3 separate regions of the Homo sapiens genome follow, and all the other regions are linked to region 1. Evidence: promoter capture Hi-C in human tissues and cell types (Jung and others, 2019). All regions are on one chromosome and are shown on one strand. The core of a region is centred on a gene start or on the middle of the fragment in contact, and the rest is flanking DNA. Distances in the headings are between cores, read along the strand shown.

Region 1 (3,908 bases), core at 953-3,452:
TCGGCCAGCTCTGGCGTGTCCCCGCGCACCAGCCCCGGGTGCACCAAGCTCTGGGCTCCACCGCCCGCGCCGCCGCCGCCGCCGCCGGGCCCCGGTGGCGCGCTCAGCATGCCGTTCACCGTGAAGCCTCCGGGCTGCGAGTAGAGCAGACTCTGCGGCGGCGGCTGCTGGCCCCCGGCCATGGACGGGAGGTGCGCGGCGGCGGCGGCGGCGGCGGCTGCGGCTGCGGCAGCGGCGGCCGCCCCCCAGCCCCCAGGGTGGCCCTGGTGTGGGGGCGGCGGCGGGGGTCCGAGGTGCGGCGGCCCGCGGTGGTGCAGCGCTGTGCCCGCGTGCAGGTCGTCGCGCCCGGCGCCGCCCTTCACGTCGGGGCCCTGCGGCGGTGGCGGCGGCGGCTGCGGTGGCTGCTGGGGGCTGCCAGCCATGCCCACGGCGCTGCCCGACCACGGCGAGCTCGCCTCCACGGCGGCGGCGGCGGCAGCGGCGGCGGCGGCGGCGGCGTGGGGCAGGGCTGTGACCCACTGGTGCGCGTGGCTCAGCATATGGCCGCCGTTGCTGGCGGCCATGGCCCCCTGCATGAAGTCGCTCTGGACCATCTTGACAGAGGACGGGTCCCCCCGGTAGGCGCCCGAGGTCACGGCGGCGCTGCCCGGCTGCATGCCGCCGCCCCCGCCCCCTGCGCCGCCCCCGCCGCCGCCGCCGCCGCCACCCCCGCCGCCGCCAGCCCCTGCCGCGTCCGAGTGCACAATAGAGCCGGCCGCGAGCAGGCTGTTCCCCGGCAGGTAGGGGTTAGAAGCCGCCGTGGCCATGCCGCTCCGCTCCCGCCACCCCACCGCCGCCACCACCGCCGCCGCCGCCGCAGCAGCAGCCGCGGCCGCCGCCGCCGCCGCCGCCGCCGCGCCCCCCGCCTCCCGCCTCCTCCCCCCCTCCTTCCCCGCCCCCGCCCCGGGCCCCCGCCGGCCCCGCCGCCTTCGCCGCCTCCTCCTCCGCCGCCGCCTCCGCCCCCGCCGCCGCCGCCGCCGCCGCGGCCCCCGGCTGCAGCTGCAAGGCCGCTCGGCAGGGCGCGGGGGTCGCCGGCCGGCCTTGGTCACCAGCAGCAGCAGCAGCCGCAGGAGCAGCGCTCTGGGGAGGGGGGCTCGCTTCTCGGGGTGCGCTCCGTGGCCACCCCCTTCAGGGGGGGTCGTGGCCGCCCCCCAGCCCCGGCGCGCTGGGCTCGCTCCAGCGGGGCTCGCCGGGCGGGGCGGGGACCTGCACTCGGGGCGCTCTCCCGGGACGCGCGGGCTCCCGCTCCTCCTCCTGTCCTCGGGCGAGCCCGGACTCTGCCCGGTCGCGGGGCTCCGTCCACCTGCTAAGTGAAGGTTTCACGGGAGATAACAAAGAAAGAAGCTGCTCCTTTCTTCCTTAGCCAAATTACGGATGACCAGCAACCGGCCCGCTCCTTCTCTTGTCCGCTCTCTCCTCTCCTCTCCTCTCCTCCTCAGGAACACATTTCACTCGTTTTCCCTTAGAGTAGTAAAACTTTTTCGTCCTTGAAGGCGTGGTGCTGCTGGCTGCTCGCGAGTGCGGAGAGGGGAGGCTGGCTCCTGCTCTCCCCCTCTGGTCCTCTCGTTTCAAGTTTTGTTCTGTCCTAGGAAAACTTCTTGCGATGGTGCATTTCTCTGAAGTTGCTATTGCCGGAGCTCTTGGTTGCCTCTGAAACAAGAGTCCTTTTTCATTCTCCTCGCAACAGTCACAGTCTGATGCGACATCTTTCCTTTTGGGCAGAAATTAGGAAACAAATATAACAAGGAAAAAATTGAACAGGAAAAAAAATGATGTCGAATCGCTCTGTTACCTTGTTGCTGACGGTTGGGGTTGGTGTTTTATTTTTTTCCCAGCAGTTGTCTGGAGAAGGAGGAGGAAGAAGAGTGCATTGGTGGAGGTGGAGGTGTGTGTGTGCATATAGGGGATCGATCCTTGATACACAACAACTCCAGTGGGCACGCTGCACGGCTCGTAGAGTGCACCGACGGCGGGCGCTGGCGCTGGCCGTGCTGGAGCAGAGTTGCAGCAGGAGCTCGCTCTGCGCCCTCGTTCGCGCTCTCTTTCCCTCTCTCACTTTTCCTCTCCCTCCCTCTCTCTCTCTCCCTCTCTCGGGCGCCCGCTCTCGCTCCGATCTGACAGTTCGCTCTCTGTCCCTCCCTCTCAGAGCGGGGACTGTCGAATGTTTACCCTCCGCCGCGAGCGCGCACCCACCACCACACTTTCCCAAATACAAGGAAGTCGAGCACCAGGGCCCCCGCTGATTGGCTACCCGCTGGGTGATTGGCAGGCTCGGAATGACTGGCTCAGGACGCGAGGCCCCCCTTCCGGCCGTTCCGATTGGTTGCTTTTTAATTTAGGCAGAGCGTCGTAGAAGCTGGAAATCTGTCGTCCTCCAGCCTCCCTCCCCCTCACCACTTTCCCCTCCCCGCCCCTCCCCCGCCGCCCCCTCCGCCACATCTTAACTCTTAGTGTCCGGCCCAGACGTTGGCGTTCCCTCGGCGGCTCTGGGCGTTCGCAATAGGTCTGGGCGGGGGGAAGAAAGGGGAGATAAAAGGGAGGGAGGGACGAGAGGGGGGAAGAGAATCAGAAGGAAAACGAAGGGGGAAACATGAAAAATAGCAACCTGCCCACCCCACCTAGTACGCGTCGGGTTGCTCACCCCCTTACCCCCGCCCCGCCAGAGATTTGTAAAGCGCGCGGCACGGATGTACCATTCAAGCTAATACCTATAGACAGATGTGTCCCCAGTGGTTTCAAAGTTTCCTCTTCCCTTCACCAGCCGGCCCCCTTCTCTGATCGGCGGGGGTGGGAAGCGGGGGCTCGCATCGCCAAGAGCTCTGGTCGTGGCCACGCTCCTTGGAAATCCGCCACCGCAACTTTCCGCAGCCGTTGCGCGCCGGCGGCAGCCCCCTTTGTTTAAGTTCTCGGATGCCATCATCTGGGAAACCTGCAGCCCAGGACCAGCGCGGTGCCCGCGCGTGCGAGACGGACCGCTCGCTGCCGCCGCTCCCTGGCTCCTCCACCCCCTCTCTCCCTCCTTCGCTCTCCCTCCCTTCCTCCCTCCTCCCTCCTCTGGGATTCGTGCAAGTAGCGTGCGTGCCCTTGTGAGTTTGGAGGGTGCCGGTCAGCGGAGCCGTGCGATGTATTTGAAAAGCAATCAGTCCGACCTTCCCCCATAGATTCATCGTAAGTGTATTCGACCCCAATGGCTTTAGGAATTCCCTGTGGCAGCAGGAGCCGGGCGAAAGAACCGGGATCGGCTAGCCGCGCCCTTCTCTGCTCCACCGCTTCCTCGTGTGTGTGTGTGTGTGTGTGTGTGTGTGTGTGTGTGATTAGCGGTGGGGGGGTTTGCTCGCTCTCTATTCTTAGGCATGGTGGTGCTTTTTTTTCTTTCCTTTCTGTCTCAGATGGATTTGCGTGGTGGATGGGGCTGGCGGCGACAAATGCTTTCTCAGCTCTAACCCAGCTGAAAGAGTTAAGGGGGATGGGAGGGGGAGTGCACCCGGTAGGCGAGAGAAGCGGGGGTGGGGTGGGGTGGGGTGGGGGGACGCGGCCAAGCGGAAACGCTGCACAGAGGAACCTCAGCGAACCAAGAAAAAAGAGAAAGTGGCAACGAAAACAAGGGCAAATTGAGCCCTCCTCGGGGATTTCCAATGAACTAACCCAACTCGGACATTCAATAAATACATGGCTCTTAATGAGCGTGCGTGTGCGTGCACCCCGCACCCCTAGCTGCGGGTGCGCCCGCTTGCGCCCGCCGCCCCCAGCCAGAGCCTGCATCTGGCAGTCCCGAGCCCGAGCGGCAGCCCAGGACGCAGCCGAGGAGCGGCCGCCGGTGCGCTCCGATTAAAATGTGAACGGGCCTGCCCTTCTCTCCCGCTGTATCG
Region 2 (3,908 bases), core at 581-3,080, 1.9 Mb after region 1:
TTTCATTTGTTTGAGTCATCTTGATTTATTTTTTCATCTGTGATTTATACTTTTAATTGTAGAGGTCTTTCACCTCCTTGGTTAAATTTATTATGGGTATTTTATTTTATTTTTGTAGTTATTTTAAATGGGATTGCTTTCTTGATTTCTTTTTCAGCAAGTTCATTATTGGTGTATAAAAATGCTACTGATTTTTATTTTTATTTTTATTTCTATTTTTTTGAGGCAGAGTCTAGCTCTGTCACCCAGGCTGGAGTGCAGTGGCTGATCTCGGCTCACTGCAACCTCGGCCTCCTGGGTTCAAGCGATTCTCCTGCCTCAGCCTCCTGAGTAGCTGAGATTACAAGCCTGCCACCACTCCCAGCTAGTTTTTGTATTTTTAGTAGAGAAGGGGTTTCGCCTGTTTGTCCAGGCTGGTCTCGAACTCCTGCCCTCAAGTGATTGCCCATCTTGGCCTCCCAAAGTGCTGGGATTACAGGCATGAGCCACTGCGCCCAGCTGCTACTGATTTTTGTATGTTGATTTTGTATCCTGCAACTTTACTGACTTCATTATCAATTTTAAGAGTTTTTTGGTGGAGTCTTTAGGGTTTTTTCTATATAAGATCATTTAGTCTGCAAAGAGAATCACTTTGACTTCCTCTTTTCCTATTTGGATGCCTTTTAGTTCTTTCTCTGCCTAATTGCTCTTGTTAGTACTTCAGTGCTATGTTGAATTAAAATGGGTAAATAAATTATGCTATATTCCTAGGGTAGCTAACTATCCTAGTGTATCCAGAACTAAGACGTTTCCAGAAATATAGAACTTCCAGTACTAAAACACAACTGTTTGTGCTTTAGATACAGTGTGTAAGAAGGTTAGAAGTTACCACTCCTTCGTAAGAAATAAAAAGCAGATAAAACTGAAAAATCAACAACTCTTCTTAGATAAGTCAGAGAAATGAAGTCACAGGACAAACTTCCACCTCTGAATTGGACAAACAAACAGGTGAATACAGAGAATCACAACTTAACCTGAGCAGAAACCACAAGTCGAAACCAGTGCCAGGGTAAGGAAATTAAGCAACTAATTTCTGGAGGACTCTGTGAGCAAATCTGAAAGTTAAAAAGTCCTGCGGGGTTTAGGCGCAGTCACTCATGCCTGTAATCCCAGCACTTTGGGAGGCTAAGGCAGGATTGCTTGAAGCCAGGAGTTCCAGACCAGCCCGGGCAACAAAGTGAAAGCCTGTCTCTGCACTTTTTTTTTTTCTTTAAGCTGACATACTGGCATGTACCTGTAATCCCTGCTACTACGGGGAGCAGAAGCAAGAGGATCTCCTTAACCCAGGAGTTTGAGGTTGCAGTGAGCTATGATCATGCCATTGCACTCCAGCTTGGGTGGCAGAGGAAGACCCTGCCTCTTAAAATTTTCTTTTCTTAATCTTAAATTTTTTAAAAAGATTTTAAAATTCCATCCCAGTTCTCACTACTCTAATAATCAGGGATTTCGGAATGGTACGTGGACATTATCAACCTCTACTGTTTTTCTCTATAACCTTGGCAGTAGCACAGAATACATCCAGGTGGTATTCTCTTCCTAAATTTGTCTAAATTAAAATTTTCTTAATTAAAACAAAATCATGTGGGGCTCCCACACTTTTGTGGGTTTTATCTCCTGAGACACCATCAAATTCTCATTGTGAATATCAGAGAAAAATCTTCTCAGGATTCTAGCAGGAGCAGAGGTAAAGTAACCATTTTTGAACACCCCAGGGCAGCAGTCCCCAACCTTTCTGGCACCTACTGGTTTTGTGGAAGACAATTTTTCCACAGATGAGGTGTGGGGATGGTTTCGGGATGACACTGTTCCACCTCAGATCATCAGGCATTAGATTCTCATAAGGAGCGCACATCCTAGATCCCTCACATGAGCAGTTCACAATAGAGTTTGCAGTCTTAGGAGAATCTAATGTTGCTGCTGATCTGACAGGAGGCAAAGCTCAGGCAGTAATACTCCCTTGCCTGCCACTCACCTCTTGCTGTGCAGCCCAGTTCCCAACAGGCCACGGACTGGTACCACTCCACAGCCCAGTGGTTGGGGGTCCCTGCCCCAGAGCATACTGTGCTCCTTAACAAGATATGCCCTCAGCAGAAACTACTCAGTCAGAACCAAACTTTCTGGAGTTTTGTTAGAACCTAACTTACTTGGGGAAAGGGAAATGTCAAACTCCAGGCCCCACTAGCCATCCTGTCCCACCTAAGGATGGGAGAGAACTGAGAAGAACTTGTGAAAATCACAGTCCAGAGACAGAGCCTTATGAAAAGACTGAAACCTAATCATAGGACCGTAAAACACTTCCCCTCTCACACACCTTACCACTATATTGCTAAATGCCTATTCTTCTTTTATCAAGTATTTAATGTCCATCTTTCAACAGAAAATTACAAGGCATATTAAAAGATAATGAATTCAGTTGAACAGCGTGAACAAGCATCAGAACAAGAGTCAGATACAGCAGGAATGTCAGAACTAGCAAACCAGGAATTTTGTTAAGTTATGGTTAACATGCTAAGGGCTTTCATGGAAAAAGTAGACAACATGAAAGAACAGATGGATAAGGTAAGCAGAGACATGCCAATAAAAAACAAATGCTAGAGATCAAAAACACTGTAACAAAAATAAAGCTTTTGATGAGTTTATAAGTAGAATAAACACAGGTAAGGAAAGAAACTCTGAGCTTGAGGACATCACAATGGAAACTTACAATACTGAGAAAAAGAGGGGAAAAACAAAAAGTCAGAGTATCTAAGAATTGCAGAGCAGCTACGAAACATGTAGCAAATGACTCATGGGAACACCAGAAAAAGAATTAAGAGAGAAAGAAAGGGAAGCAACATTTAAAGCAATAATGACAAAATATTCCTCATTCCTCCTTTTGTCCCTGGATCATTGCTTTTATTCATTTCACTTACATATAAGCATATATATTTACACCTATGCATCACAAAATGACATTGTGGTCAAAGACAGCCTACATGTATGACAGTGATCCCATAAGCTCAACAAATTCCCCCAAAGGCACAATTTTCCCAAATTAATAACAGACGGAAAACCACAGGTCCAGGAACTCAGATAATATGAAGCGTAAAACAAAACAAAACATTTTACCTATAGAGAAGCAAGGATTAGAATTATGTCTGACTTCTCAAAAACCATGCAAATAAGACAACAGTGGAGAGAAACACTTAACGCATGAAAAGAAAAAAACTCACCAACCTAGAATTCTGTACTGTATGAACTTATACTGTAAAATGAAGGACAAATACTTTGTTAGACAAACAAACATGCGGCAAATTTTTTGCTAGTAGACCTGCCTTGCAATAAATATTAAACAAAACTTCAAAGAAGAGGAAGATGATATAAAAAAGAAACTGATGTAAATTTAAAAAGAAAGAACATCAGAGAATGAATAAGTGAAGGTAAAATAAAAACATTTTTTATTATTAATTGATATAACAGACAACATTTTTTTCAAAATAGAAACAATAATGTATTAGAATATTTAGTATATATATGCATGTGTATACATATATGTATGTAACTATATGTATATATACACACACACAGAGGCATATGTGTCATTATGTGTCACATAACGACAGGGATACATCTTGAGAACTGTGTTCTTAGTTGATTTCATCATTATGTAAATATCATAGAATGTATTTATACAAATCTAGATGGTACCGCCTACTATACACCTGGGCTATATGATATTGCCTATTGCTCCTAGGCTACCAACCTGTACAGCATAGTACTGAATAATGTAGGCAATTGTAACACAATGGTAAGTATGTGTGTATCTAAATATATCCAAATGTGGAAAAGGTACAGCAAAAATATGGTATTATATTCTCATGGGATCACCA
Region 3 (3,908 bases), core at 953-3,452, 1.6 Mb after region 1:
TTTTTGAAGCATGAAAAGAGTTGAGAGAGTATTTTATTATTTTTGTGTGGATACATATAAATTATCCCTTGAAACTAGGCTTTCAGGGAAGAAGTATTTGTTGCTGTATATTATGTCCATGTGGAGATCTGATAGAGCATAGACTTAAAGTCATGCAGATGGCCAGATATGTTGGTTATTCCAGAACTTTGAGAAGTCTTGCTTGAGACAAATTATTTGACAATGCAAAATTAATAGCAGAGTCTACCATTCTGGTTTGGTAACAAAAAATTACATAGAAATGAAAACTTTTCTTCACACATGCAGAAATGTGTGTGTGTGAGTGTGTGTGTATATATAATCTTCCTCTTGCATTTCCATTGCTTTTTAAATTGATATAATTTTGCTATTAAATGAATCTGACATCCTGAGAATATTTCAAGAAACTTGAATACTACATTTCTTGCTATGATTCAGTTTTACAGAAACTGTTACACTTGAATCTACTAAGTTAGAGATGAGAAAATTAATACAAAAATAAAAGAAAATAGTTGAACTTTACCTTATATTTCAAAGTCCAAAACGATGTATTGGCAGCAAAACAGATTCTGTGACTTTTGTGGAAGAGAGTGGTTCAATTTGGAGTTTTAATTCCTGAGTTTTTTATTTTTGTTGTTCTGCATTTAGCATTCCAAATTTTCTTACATCTGTACCTCTGTTTGGGAGGAGGAAATGTACAGGATGGGAAAAGGGAACCGGAGGCTTTTACAGGTATAAATATGTAACTGAGCCCTCAAAATAGGCACTTTGCAAAACATCAAATGATACCTTTTTCTGAAATATGAGAAAAATTGCTGAACTCAATAATCGGGGTATGCTATAATAATATTAAATAAGCTGTCAAAAGAATAACATTTCTCCTGAAATCAATTAAAATGAGCAATCTACTAATAATAGAATTAGAAACTGAGTTGATTGTCATTGGTGGTGGTGGTGTTTGAACCAAAAATGCACATGGGCTTTCAAATATTCAAGTACTTCACCATCATGTTTTTTGCACCTGATGAATTATTAATACAGGGCTTGTGCTGGGCTCACCAGCTATTTCCGAATGCCTATTAGTAAGTCACAATTTGATGTGTCACCATGAAGGGTGAAGGGGATGGCTAATAAGAATATAATCTATTCATCGGTGGGCACACACTGATATCAGTTACTTGATCTACTTCGTTTTGCTTTGGGTAAATTATTTGAATGAGCTTTGTGATTTTGTGTGACAAATTGCTTGTTTTTGTTTGTTCTGTTTGTTGTTTTCTCATTCTTGTTCTTAGAGGCAGGCAGGCATTCATGTGTGCATGTGTGTGTTTTAATGGACAGTTTTGTGTGCTGTAATTTTTTGTACTTCTTTATACCAAATATTTCAAATACAAACATACACACACATATATGTACTGAATACCTGTATTTGTGGTGTCTGTTTACATTTTCTGTCATGTAGTCACTAAGCACACAACGTACACTTAAAGGATGTCAAAACTGACAGCCTCAGCATGATTGATGACGCTCTGGTAGATTGATTCTTACCAGGTGTGGTGTGATGGGAATTCAAATGCTGTTCAGAGCTCTTATTTGTGTTAGTAAAGTTTTGCTTTTCTGTAAGTTTTTGGGTGGAAAGAAGGCAGGGGAAGCTTCTGAACCGGTAATTGTAAACCCTTGTTTAAGATATATTGAATATGTCAAGAAAAAATACACGGAATTTTTTCCCAACATGGGTATCTGATGCATGTTATCCATTTTTATATATTTACTTTTCAACTCACACCTATGTAGTCTCTTACATTATCAGCATAAATATTTTCAAAGATTTCAAATTACTGTTGCTGTTATTGATTTGGGTAAACAAATGCCCCATTTATTCTCTTAACTGGACAGAAGTGATTACTCCCTGCCTGAATGCATGAAAACACCAAACCAACATTTTAATTGAAATTTCATTTAAAAATCCTGAGCCAGCTGCAAGTTTGACCCAGCGAATGTGTCATTCTCTGGCCTCTATGCACGTAGTGCCTCCTCTCTAAACTAAATCCAAGAGCTCAGATTGGCCCCTACTGGACAATAGCCACCAATGCAAAAGAGCAGGGATCTCTTTGACTGCTCTGGGTTTCATTGCCCTCATGCTCATCACTGTGGCTGACTGACACCAGGCACCAGAGGCGATCCTGAACAGTAACCACGTATACATTATCAGAATGAAGCTCACTCATTTTCCATAACTGAATTCAGTGTTTTCTGATAAAAAGAAATTTTCTTTCCTTTTGGCCACTTAAAGTAGGAATGACAGTGCTAAATGGGTAAATTTCTGCCCTGGGTAATTTCAGAAAATGGAACTCTGTGCCTCAGGATGTTGTCAAGTGTGATCTGTCATTAACGGAGGGGAACTGGCAACTTAAGTCATCAATGGTCACAAGTGAAGCGTCCTAACTTCACTCCCATCCTTACTCATCTTTCCAAAGAGCACTCACTCAACTCGATCTTTGGATATAAGTGGTCTCAAAAGGTTGTCCCATGATCTGCAACAAACAATGTTTCTCAACCAAATTGTCAAGGAAAATTATAACACACAGCAATTGAATGTCTTCTTTTTTTGCCCCTTTGACTTGTTCTCAAGGTTTCAGGTAAGCAATAGGGGTAAGAGAAGAGGCACTTTCTTCAGACTAAAATGAGAGGGAGCTGACTGTGAAGATTCAACTGTCTTTATTCAACAGGTGGTGTAACTACTTCATGGACACTCTCCTACCCTCATGGCCAGGAGCTGAGAGAGATTCTCAGCAGCTGTTGTTGGACAGTGCTCATTAACACAAACAAAACAGCATTGCTTCCTAGATTCTTTGTACTACATAGTATTTGCAGGACTTTTTATGACAAAAAGTAATTGCCTAGCCACCAACTAACTTTCCCAATACTTGTTTTCTCTGTTATTTATCTTGACTTTTACCTGATTATCCCTTGTTTCAACCCTGCTACCTGATCAATAACCACAATATGTCCCCATCCCGCCCCATCCTTCCCCATCCTTAACCCAGTGATTCTGTGCTCCTGTTTCCTCTGCTCTTTCTCATCAACTCTGTTTTTGTTTTTGTTTTTTTTTCCTTTTTGAGTTGGAGTCTTGCTCTGTCACCCAGGCTGGAGTGCAGTGGCACGATCTCAGCTCACTGCAACCTCCGCCTCCCAGGTTTAAGCAATTCTCCTGCCTCAACCTCCAGAGTAGCTGGGATTACAGGCACCCGCCACCATGCCCAGCTAATTTTCGTATTTTTAGTAGAGATGGGTTTTCACTATGATGGTCAGGCTGGTTTCAAACTCCTGAGCTCAAGTGATCCGCCTGCCTCAGCCTCCCATAGTGCTGGGATTATAGGCATGAGCCAATACGCATGGCCGTCAATTCTGTTTTCTTTGCCTTAGAGTTAGCCTCTCAGTGTCATCTTTCTGGTCTACTCTGTCCCCAAGAATACGTTGTTAACACTATGGCCTGTTTTTCTTGGTTTTGGAGTTACTCAGTTAGACAAGGGACACTAAACCAGTCTTAAGCTCTTTCCAGGAATATGAAAAGTTGCCAAAGTGCCCTTTAGTTGAGTACTAGAAGTCAGGAAGAACAGCAAGGCAACAACCTTTGAGTTCATGCCCAGTGCAGAGCTCTGCAGACATAAGGCAACAAAGATCTGAGAGCTGGTTGGAGAGAGACCAGGCATGACTTTGCTGATGTTGGGCACAGGGCAGTTCCTGTCACTGCAATAGTTTCATGATATAGGGCAAGGTGGCTTAACGTGTGCTTTAGAGAAATATTGGGGACCAAAGACAAAGTCATTCATATGTTTGATGGGTTAAGCTCTTAGTAAGAAACAACAACAACAACAACAACAAAACAAACC

What was found. Contacts are between HindIII fragments. The study calls those that stand out against the background at their distance.
Region 2: a contact is called between a fragment that was not itself captured here and the fragment with the promoter of POU3F3 in region 1, in 1 of the 25 tissues and cell types used here (dorsolateral prefrontal cortex).
Region 3: a contact is called between a fragment that was not itself captured here and the fragment with the promoter of POU3F3 in region 1, in 1 of the 25 tissues and cell types used here (dorsolateral prefrontal cortex).

Annotation. Positions count from the first base shown.
Region 1 is chr2:104,852,409-104,856,316 of GRCh38, reverse strand. It overlaps POU3F3 (POU class 3 homeobox 3), which reads right to left and starts at 2,202. Exons shown (of 1, transcript NM_006236.3): 1 at 1-2,202. The coding sequence starts at 806. It also overlaps a transcript of PANTR1 not described here. RefSeq lists an enhancer at 2,009-2,598 and a silencer at 3,807-3,856. The HindIII fragment of the contact is 12,067 bases long and covers 1-3,908 here.
Region 2 is chr2:102,997,299-103,001,206 of GRCh38, reverse strand. No RefSeq gene overlaps it. Among named protein-coding and RNA genes, the nearest start is that of LINC01935, 15 kb to the right of the region's middle. The HindIII fragment of the contact is 4,212 bases long and covers 1-3,908 here.
Region 3 is chr2:103,283,141-103,287,048 of GRCh38, reverse strand. No RefSeq gene overlaps it. Among named protein-coding and RNA genes, the nearest start is that of LINC01935, 300 kb to the right of the region's middle. The HindIII fragment of the contact is 6,261 bases long and covers 1-3,908 here.